Regions from separate parts of the Homo sapiens genome. Here all the other regions are linked to region 3. The links are contacts of gene promoters, found by promoter capture Hi-C in human tissues and cell types (Jung and others, 2019). All regions are on one chromosome and are shown on one strand. Each heading gives the region's core, a stretch centred on a gene start or on the middle of the fragment in contact. The rest is flanking DNA. Distances are from core to core; before and after follow the strand shown. Region 1 overlaps ZNF704 (zinc finger protein 704). Region 2 has its middle 53 kb from the start of ZNF704. Region 3 holds the start of ZNF704 (zinc finger protein 704).

Evidence for each region. Contacts are between HindIII fragments. The study calls those that stand out against the background at their distance.
Region 1: a fragment that was not itself captured here is called in contact with the fragment with the promoter of ZNF704 in region 3 in 2 of the 25 tissues and cell types used here (adrenal gland and dorsolateral prefrontal cortex).
Region 2: a fragment that was not itself captured here is called in contact with the fragment with the promoter of ZNF704 in region 3 in 3 of the 25 tissues and cell types used here (bladder, hippocampus and liver).

Annotation. Positions count from the first base shown.
Region 1 is chr8:80,825,258-80,828,132 of GRCh38, forward strand. All of the region lies in intron 1 of ZNF704 (zinc finger protein 704), which reads right to left. Among named protein-coding and RNA genes, the nearest start is that of ZNF704, 48 kb to the right of the region's middle. The HindIII fragment of the contact is 5,386 bases long and covers 1-2,875 here.
Region 2 is chr8:80,926,831-80,929,635 of GRCh38, forward strand. No RefSeq gene overlaps it. Among named protein-coding and RNA genes, the nearest start is that of ZNF704, 53 kb to the left of the region's middle. The HindIII fragment of the contact is 4,418 bases long and covers 1-2,805 here.
Region 3 is chr8:80,873,508-80,876,396 of GRCh38, forward strand. It overlaps ZNF704 (zinc finger protein 704), which reads right to left and starts at 1,274. Exons shown (of 9, transcript NM_001033723.3): 1 at 1,064-1,274. RefSeq lists a silencer at 1-153. The HindIII fragment of the contact is 4,011 bases long and covers 1-2,889 here.

The DNA of each region.
Region 1 (2,875 bases), core at 190-2,689, 48 kb before region 3:
AAAGCAGGGGTTGCAATCCTAGTCTCTGATAAAACAGACTTTAAACCAACAAAGAACAAAAGAGACAAGGAAGGCCATTACATAATGGTAAAGGGATCAATTCAACAAGAAGAGCTAACTATCCTAAATATTTATATACCCAATACAGGAGCACCCAGATTCATAAAGCAAGTCCTTAGAGACTTACAAAGAGACTTAGACTCCCACACAATAATAATGGGAGACTTTAACACCCCACTGTCAATGTTAGACAGATCAACAAGACAGAAAGTTAACAAGGATATTCAGGAATTGAACTCAGCTCTGCACCAAGCAGACCTAATAGACATCTACAGAACTCTCCACCCCAAATCAACAGAATATACACTCTTCTCAGCACCACACTGCACTTATTCCGAAATTGACCACATAGTTGGAAGTAAAGCACTCCTCAGCAAATGTAAAAGAACAGAAATTATAACAAACTGTCTCTCAGACCACAGTGCAATCAAACTAGAACTCAGGATTAAGAAACTCACTCAAAACCACTCAACTACATGGAAACTGAACACCCTGCTCCTGAATGACTACTGGGTACATCACGAAATGAAGGGAGAAATAAAGATGTTCTTTGAAACCAATGAGAACAAAGACACCACATACAAGAACCTCTGGGACACATTTAAAGCAGTGTCTGGAGGGAAATTTATTGCACTAAATGCCAACAAGAGAAAGAAGGAAAGATCTAAAATTGACACCCTAACATCACAATTAAAAGAACTAGAGAAGCAAGAGCAAACACATCCAAAAGCTAGCAGAAGGCAAGAAATAACTAAGATCAGAGCAGAACTGAAAGAAATAGAGACACAAAAAACCCTTCAAAAAAATCAATGAATCCAGGAGGTGGTTTTTTGAAAAGATCAACAAAATTGATAGACCACTAGCAAGACTAACAAAGAAGAAAAGAGAGAAGAATCAAATAGACACAATAAAAAATCATAAAGGAGATATCACCACCGATCCCACAGAAATACAAACTACCATCAGAGAATACTATAAACACCTCTATGCAAATAAACTAGAAAATCTAGAAGAAATGGATAAATAACTGGACACATATACCCTCCCAAGACTAAACCAGGAAGAAGTTGAATCCCTGAATAGACCAATAACAGGCTCTGAAATTGACGCAATAATAGCCTACAAACCAAAAAAAGTCCAGGAACAGACGGATTCACAGGCGAATTCTACCAGAGGTACAAAGAGGAGCTGGTACCATTCCTTCTGAAACTATTCCAATCAATAGAAAAAGAGGGAATCCTCCCTAACTCATTTTATGAGGCCAGCATCATCCTGATACCAAAGCCGGGCAGAGACACAACAAAAAAGGAGAATTTTAGACCAATATCCCTGATGAACATCAATGCAAAAATCCTCAGTAAAATACTGGCAAACCGAATCCAGCAGCATATCACAAAGCTTATCCACCACAAGCAAGTTGGCTTCATCCCTGGGATGCAAGGCTGGTTCAACATACACAAATCAATAAATGTAATCCATCATATAAACAGAACCAAAGAAAAAAACCACATGATTATCTCAATAGATGCAGAAAAGGCCTTTAACAAAATTCAACAACCCTTCATGCTAAAAACTCTCAATAAATTAGGTATTGATGGGACATATCTCAAAATAATAAGAGCTATTTATGACAAACCCACAGCGAATATCATACTGAGTGGGCAAAAACTGGAAGCATTCCCTTTGCAAACTGGCACAAGACATGGATGCCCTCTCTCTCCACTCCTATTCAACACAGTGTTGGAAGTTCTGGCCAGGGCAATCAGGCAGAAGAAAGAAATAAAGGGCATTCAATTAGGAAAAGAGGAAGCCAAATTGTCCCTGTTTGCAGATGACATCATTGTATATTTAGAAAACCCCATCATCTCAGCCCAAAATCTCCTTAAGCTGATAAGCAACTTCAGGAAAGTGTCAGGATACAAAATCAATGTGCAAAAATCACAAGCATTCCTATACACCAATAACAGACAAACAGCCAAATCATGAGTGAATTCCCATTCACAATTACTTCAAAGAGAATAAAATATCTAGGAATCCAACTTACAAGGGATGTGAAGGACCTCTTCAAGGAGAGTTACAAACCACTGCTCAACAAAATAGAAGAGGACACAAACAAATGGAAGAATATTCCATGCTCATGGATAGGAAGAATCAATATCATGAAAATGGCCATACTGCCCAAGGTAATTTATAGATTCAATGCCATCCCTATCAAGCTACCAAGACTTTCTTCACAGAATTGGAAAAAAACTACTTTAAAGTTCATATGGAACCAAAAAAGAGCCCACATTGCCAAGTCAATCCTAAGCCAAAAGAACAAGGCTGGAGGCATCACGCTACCTGACTTCAAACTATACTACAAGGCTACAGTAACCAGAACAGCATGGTGCTGGTACCAAAACAGAGATATAGACCAATGGAACAGAACAGAGCCCTCAGAAATAATACCACACATCTACAACCATCTGATCTTTGACAAAACTGACAAAAGCAAGAAATGGGGAAAGGATTCCCTATTTAGTAAATGGTGCTGGGAAAACTGGCTAGCCATATGTAGAAAGCTGAAACTGGATCCCTTCCTTACACCTTATACAAAAATTATTTCAAGATGGATTAAAGACTTCAATGTTAGACCTAAAACCATAAAAACCCTAGAAGAAAACCTAGGCAATACGATTCAGGACATAGGCATGGGCAAGGACTTCATGACTAAAACACCAAAAGCAAGAAAATTTTGGCAACAAAAGCCATAATTGACAAATGGGATCTAACTAAACTAAAGAGCTTCTGCAGAGCAAAAGAAACTACCATCAGA
Region 2 (2,805 bases), core at 295-2,794, 54 kb after region 3:
TCAATCCATACAGCCTCACTGTGCCAAGTGGAAGCAGTGGCAGTGTGTGTATGTGTGTGTGTTATTCAAACAGTTAAAAAAAAAAAAAAGACAGAAGGCTTAGGCAGATTTCCAGAAAACAGACTGTGTCAGTCTAGACTAGTAAAACCCAGCCAGTTTAATTTCTGAATTTGTGGTTATTATTTCTGAATTTATTTTGTATTTAACCTACTTCCCCCTTGCCGCATCCCCACAAAAAAAGAGTAAAAAGGTGAGAAAAATGACCAACCAGTTTCAACCACTATCCTGGCATCATGAAAGTTAAAATTCCAAAGATTAGAGATTATATATTGCTCCTATGAAAAATAACCTTTGTGTGAATCTTTAAAGATTCCTACTTTTTAAAAAAATAGCAAAAGCAGCATATGTTATTGTTGAAACTTCAGAAAAAAAATAAGCGAAAACAAGAAAATTGAAACCATGTATAATTTCACCATCTAGACATAAGATTACATGGTTTTGTTAAGTAAGAATCGGCCTTGAGTTAGGTAGAACGGAGTTCAAATTGTGGGCCTACCTGTGTGATTCAGAGCAAGTTAACCTCACTGAGCATTGAACTTCTCTCCATAAAGTGAGACATAGCTATAGGGGTGTGGAGGGTTGCAGTAAAATTCTGGACACAAAAGTAATTGCTGATTGATAATATCTGTATTGTATCCCCTAAACTACTGATCATATTTCATTATTAATTTCATACTACCTGCAGTTTCAGAAAATGAGCTCATTAAATTTTTCTCACATTCCTTTCTTTGTTATATTGCCATGACACAAATTTACAGCTTCAGTCTTCTGCTTTATTGTTTCTATTGCCTATACTTGTCTGGAGTAAGATGTACACAGAGCCATATTTTTATAGTGAGTAAGCCTGATTTCAGTGCTTTATTATTTTTTGGCAGTGAATGATGTTGCAGCAAGTCTGAAACCAACTTGATTTTCTTCCTTCTAGGTAATTTATCTTGCCTGGCAGGTGCCTGAAGATTTTCTTCAAGTTCAATACTGTACATAGGGTAAACTTTGATATTAACTGAATTGGAATGTTCCTGGAACATGGTTCAATTTTATCTGCAGTTTCAGTGATATCTTAAAATTCAGATAATTCTCTTATATCTTTGAATATATCTTCTATTTTGTGGTTTTTCAATTCAGATACATCAATTCTTCTTATATTGGATTATGTTTATCTACCACATATATTGTCTCCTATTTAATTTTTTTATTTGCGATATTGTCAGTAATTTAATATTCACCAGTTTTTATTGTTTTAATTTTATATTAGCTCTATAATGTTGTATTTTATAAGAAATTCTTTTTAAAATCTCATTTTCTTGTTGCCTTACTGATTTGATATTTTTATTCCAATTTACTCTAGCAAGAAATGAGTGTGATTAATATGCTTCTATTGGCTTAAGTTAAATTTTTAGGGGCGGGTGTGTTGGCTCACACCTGTAATCCTAGCACCTTGGGAGGCCGAGGTAGGTGGATCACCTGAGGTCAGGAGTTCAAGACCAACCTGGCCAACATGATGAAACCCCATCTCTATTAAATATACAAAAATTAGCCAGGTGTGGTGGTGCGTGCCTGTAATCCCACCGACTTGGGAGGCTGAGGAAGGAGAATCGCTTGACCTGGGAGGTAGAGGTTGCAGTGAGCCGAGATCATGCCACTGCACTCCAGCCTGCATGACGGGAGTAAGACTCCACCTCAAAAAAAAAAAAAAAAGTGTTAGCTAGGTTAGGCTTTGTGTCTTCTGCATACTATAATCCCTTTTTTTTTTTATTTTCTTCTGCTCAGTGGTTTTTTTTTTTTTTGGTCAAAAAGTTATTTTATTGTATTATTTTATTTATTATTAATCAAACTTTTTATTTTGAGATAATTTAGATTCACATGTGGTTGTAAAAAGTAATACAGAGAAATTCTGTGTATCCTTTGTCAATTTCCCTCAATGATAACATCTTGTAAAACTGTAATACGACATTAAGACTAGCATATTGACATTGATACAAATCTTACTCAGATTTTCTCCATTTTACTTGGGCTTATGTGTGTGTCTATGTCTGTGCATGTGTGTGTTTGTATTTAGCACTATGCAATTTTTATTGCCTGTGTAGGCTGGCATATTTACCACCAAAGTCAAAATACAGAATGGCTTCACCACCATGAGGATACAGTAGGTTGTCCTTTGTAACCATAATTGACTATTTTGGACATTTTATATAAATGGAATAATGTAATATATGGTCCTTTGTGACTGGCCTCTTCCATTTAGCATAATGTTCCAGGGTTCATCTCTATTGTAGCACTTTCCACTGCTTCATTCCTTTTTATTGCTGAATAACATTTCACTTTATTGATATACCATATTTTGTTTATTTATTCATTAGTTAATGGACATTTGAGTTGTTTCCACTTTTTGGCTATTATGAGTAATACTAATGCGAACATTCATGTACAAGTTTTGGTGTGGTCCTATGTTTTCATTTCTTTTGGGTTGATACCTACGAGTAGTGCCGCTGGGTGATACGGTAACTCTATGTTTAACTCTTTGAGGAACTGACAGAGTGTGTTCTAAAGTGGCTGCACCACCTCACATCCTCACTCGCAGTGTATGAAGCTTCCAATTTCTCCACATTATCTGTTTGTTGTTCTTTTTTGAGACAGGGTCTCATTCTGTCACTCAGGCTGGAGTGCAGTGGTGCGATCTCGGCTCACTGTAACTTCTGCCTCCCAGGTTCAAATGATTTTCTTACCTCAGCCTCCTGAGCAGCT
Region 3 (2,889 bases), core at 24-2,523:
GCGGGTCCCACGCGCGCCACCGCGCCCAACACGCACCTTCAACGCGCCCCGGGCCGGGCCCCTGGGGACTGCGTGGCCGGGTCCGAGGGGCACGAAACGCTCCTCGCCGTCCTCGTCGTCTTCGTCGCCGTCCACCACCTCGACGACCACCTCCTCGTCCTCCTCTTCCTCGTCGTCATCCTCCTCCTCCGCGCCCCCTCGGGGCTTCTCCTCCACACGCCCGAGCCCCCTCCGCCGCCTGCTCCCGCCCTCCTCGTCCTCGTCTTCCTCCCCTAGAAGCAGCAGCACCGGCGACGAGGCGGCGGCGGCGGCCCCGGTGGCCCGAGGGGGGCCGGTCCCGGCGCTGCGCGGCGGCGGCGGCAGCGGCGGCCTCCAGCTCTCCGGGGCGGGCGCCGGGGCCGGGCCCGGGACAGGGGGCGGGAGCCCGGGTAGGGCGGCTTCCTTGGCGGGCGCGGGCGCCGGCCCGGCAGGCTGCAGCGCGGCGCCCCCCCGGCGGCTGCCCAGGCTGGAGCGCTTGGCTAGACGCCGCGCCTGCATGCCTGAGCGCGGGGTTGCGGGCCGCGGCGCGGGGCCGGAGAGTTTGTCACCTCCTCTTCCTCCTCTGCCTCCGCCGGTGGCCGCAGGGCCGGGGACTCGCGGCCGCAAGGGGCTGCAGGAGCCGCCGGCCAGGACCCGCGGCTGCCACTGGCTGCAGAGGCGCGGGCGCCGCCTTCGCTGGACCGGCCGGCGGGGACGCCGGCGGCCGGCGGCTACGGCGGGGCGGCGCGGCGGCCGCGGGCGGGGGTGGGTGTGAGCGAGCGGCGCGCTGCCGCCTCCGCCGCCGCCGCCGCCGCCCGGGAGCCGCGGGCCGCGCTGCGCTCCATGCGGCCGGCGGCCGAGCCCGCGCGCGCCTCTCCCGGCCGGCTGCGCCCGCGCGCTCCGGGCCTACCGCTGCCGTGCCTCGGCGCGAGCTGTTTGTGTTGTATGTTTTCCACCACCGCCCCCCTCTTCGCGAGCCATTCCTCACAACCCTCCGGTCCCCCCGCTCAGACAAAACCCGGACTGGATTTTTTTTTTCTCTTACCCACAGTCTCCGAAAGTCTGGCGCTTCGAAGCAGTTGGCCCTGACACCAGGGCAAACGCTTAACCGCAGCCCATTCTTCCCTCCGGAGGGAGGGGAGTAGACTTCGCTGGAAGTAAGGTTGTCTGTCAAAGTTAGACTTTGAACGTAGAGATTTGCTACAAGTCATTTTAATGGACACTGATGTGCATGGCAGCTACTCCTGAGCTTGTGTGAAATCAAGGAAGGTGTACCAATCTGAGGTTTGGGATGAATTCCTAATATGAATCATCAGAGTCGCTTAGATTTTCGAAACACTGTTTCATGAGCGATTGTCTACCAATCTCACACTCTTTGAACGCACCACTCTAGGCCCTGCGATTGAGCTGCCTTGGCTCTGTGCTGAGTGTGTAGGTCTTTCAGCTTTTACTCCTGCTATTCTACCTTGAGTGCCTGATTTTAATGGCTGAATTCCAAGAAGCTTTCTGTTTGCACTGTCTGATCTGTAGACTCTCTTCTGGCATTGTTCAGGACTTTGAAGAAACAAATGGGTGGGAGTTCAAGATCGTTTGAGTTGGTTACTTAAGAAATTAATATGAAGTAAGACCAAATCTGGAAATCAAGCACATAACATGACTAATTTTGCCATTTTCTGACGATTTTTAGGTGTGATAAAGAAAATATATTTGCTATTGCGTGGGGTTAGGCTATGTAGTAAGTGGTATTTCTTCTTTTATTTATTTTAATTTTTATTTATATATATTTCTTTATTTTTCAGATGGAGTTTCGCTCTTGTTGCCAAGGCTGGAGTGCAATGTCATGGTCTGGGCTCACTGTAACCTCCGCCACCTGGGTTCAAGCGATTCTCCTGCCTCAGCCTCCTGAGTACCTGGGATTAAAGGCGCGCTCCACCATGCCATGCTAATTTTGTATTTTTCGTAGAGACAGGGTTTCACCATGTTGGCCAGGCTGGTCTCAAACTCCTGACCTCAGATGATTTGCCTGCCTTGGCCTCCCAAAGTGCTGGGATTACAGGTGTGAGCCACCGTGCCCGGCCTTAAGTCGTATTTCTTACATTCAAATCATACCCCCAATTCCATCCCTGTAGAGGAGGGCTGGGGAGGATCTTACGCATCAAATACCCTGGTAGGCACCTCCGTGGGGCCAGAATAAAAGGTGTATTCACCTTCAGTTAATTATTGTTGGACATTTAACATCATATGCTCTGTTAGACACTTGAATGGGGCTCATTAAATGCTCACTTATGGTGGCTTCCAACTGTTGAACAGGGATGATGACAAAGATTCTAAAATGAACTTTTTGTTCTCCCTGAATCAGATTAGCTTCCTGATGTACCTATTTCAGGTGATGAAACTCTCATTATAATCATTTGAGCCCAAAATAGCGGTATCATTTTAACTCCCTTCTCTACCTTATCCCTAGAGGCAATTGCCCACAAGTCCAACCCATTGTTCTTTCTAAAATGCATTTTGAATCCACCCCTTCCTTTCCATTCCCAAAGCTCTTACAGCATTTTGTGACTTCAAAAGTGGAAGTTTCTAACAGTTCTACACACCCATTTTCTCACCCACACACCCTCCCTTTCCCTCCTCAGATGCCACCACCAGATTTATGTTTCCGAAACCCCATTTAGATCACACCATTTTCTTGTTGGACTTTATATTTGTAAATATTCTGTTCAGGAATTCAGAGAGAAGAAAACAGAACATTAAGAGATGGGTGTGTCTGATCAAAGCATGGAATAGCAGGGGCTAGCCAATAAGTGAATAATCAGTATCAGCTAGAGTGTGCAAAGAATTAAGAAAGAACATTAAGGTGGTTTCATCCCA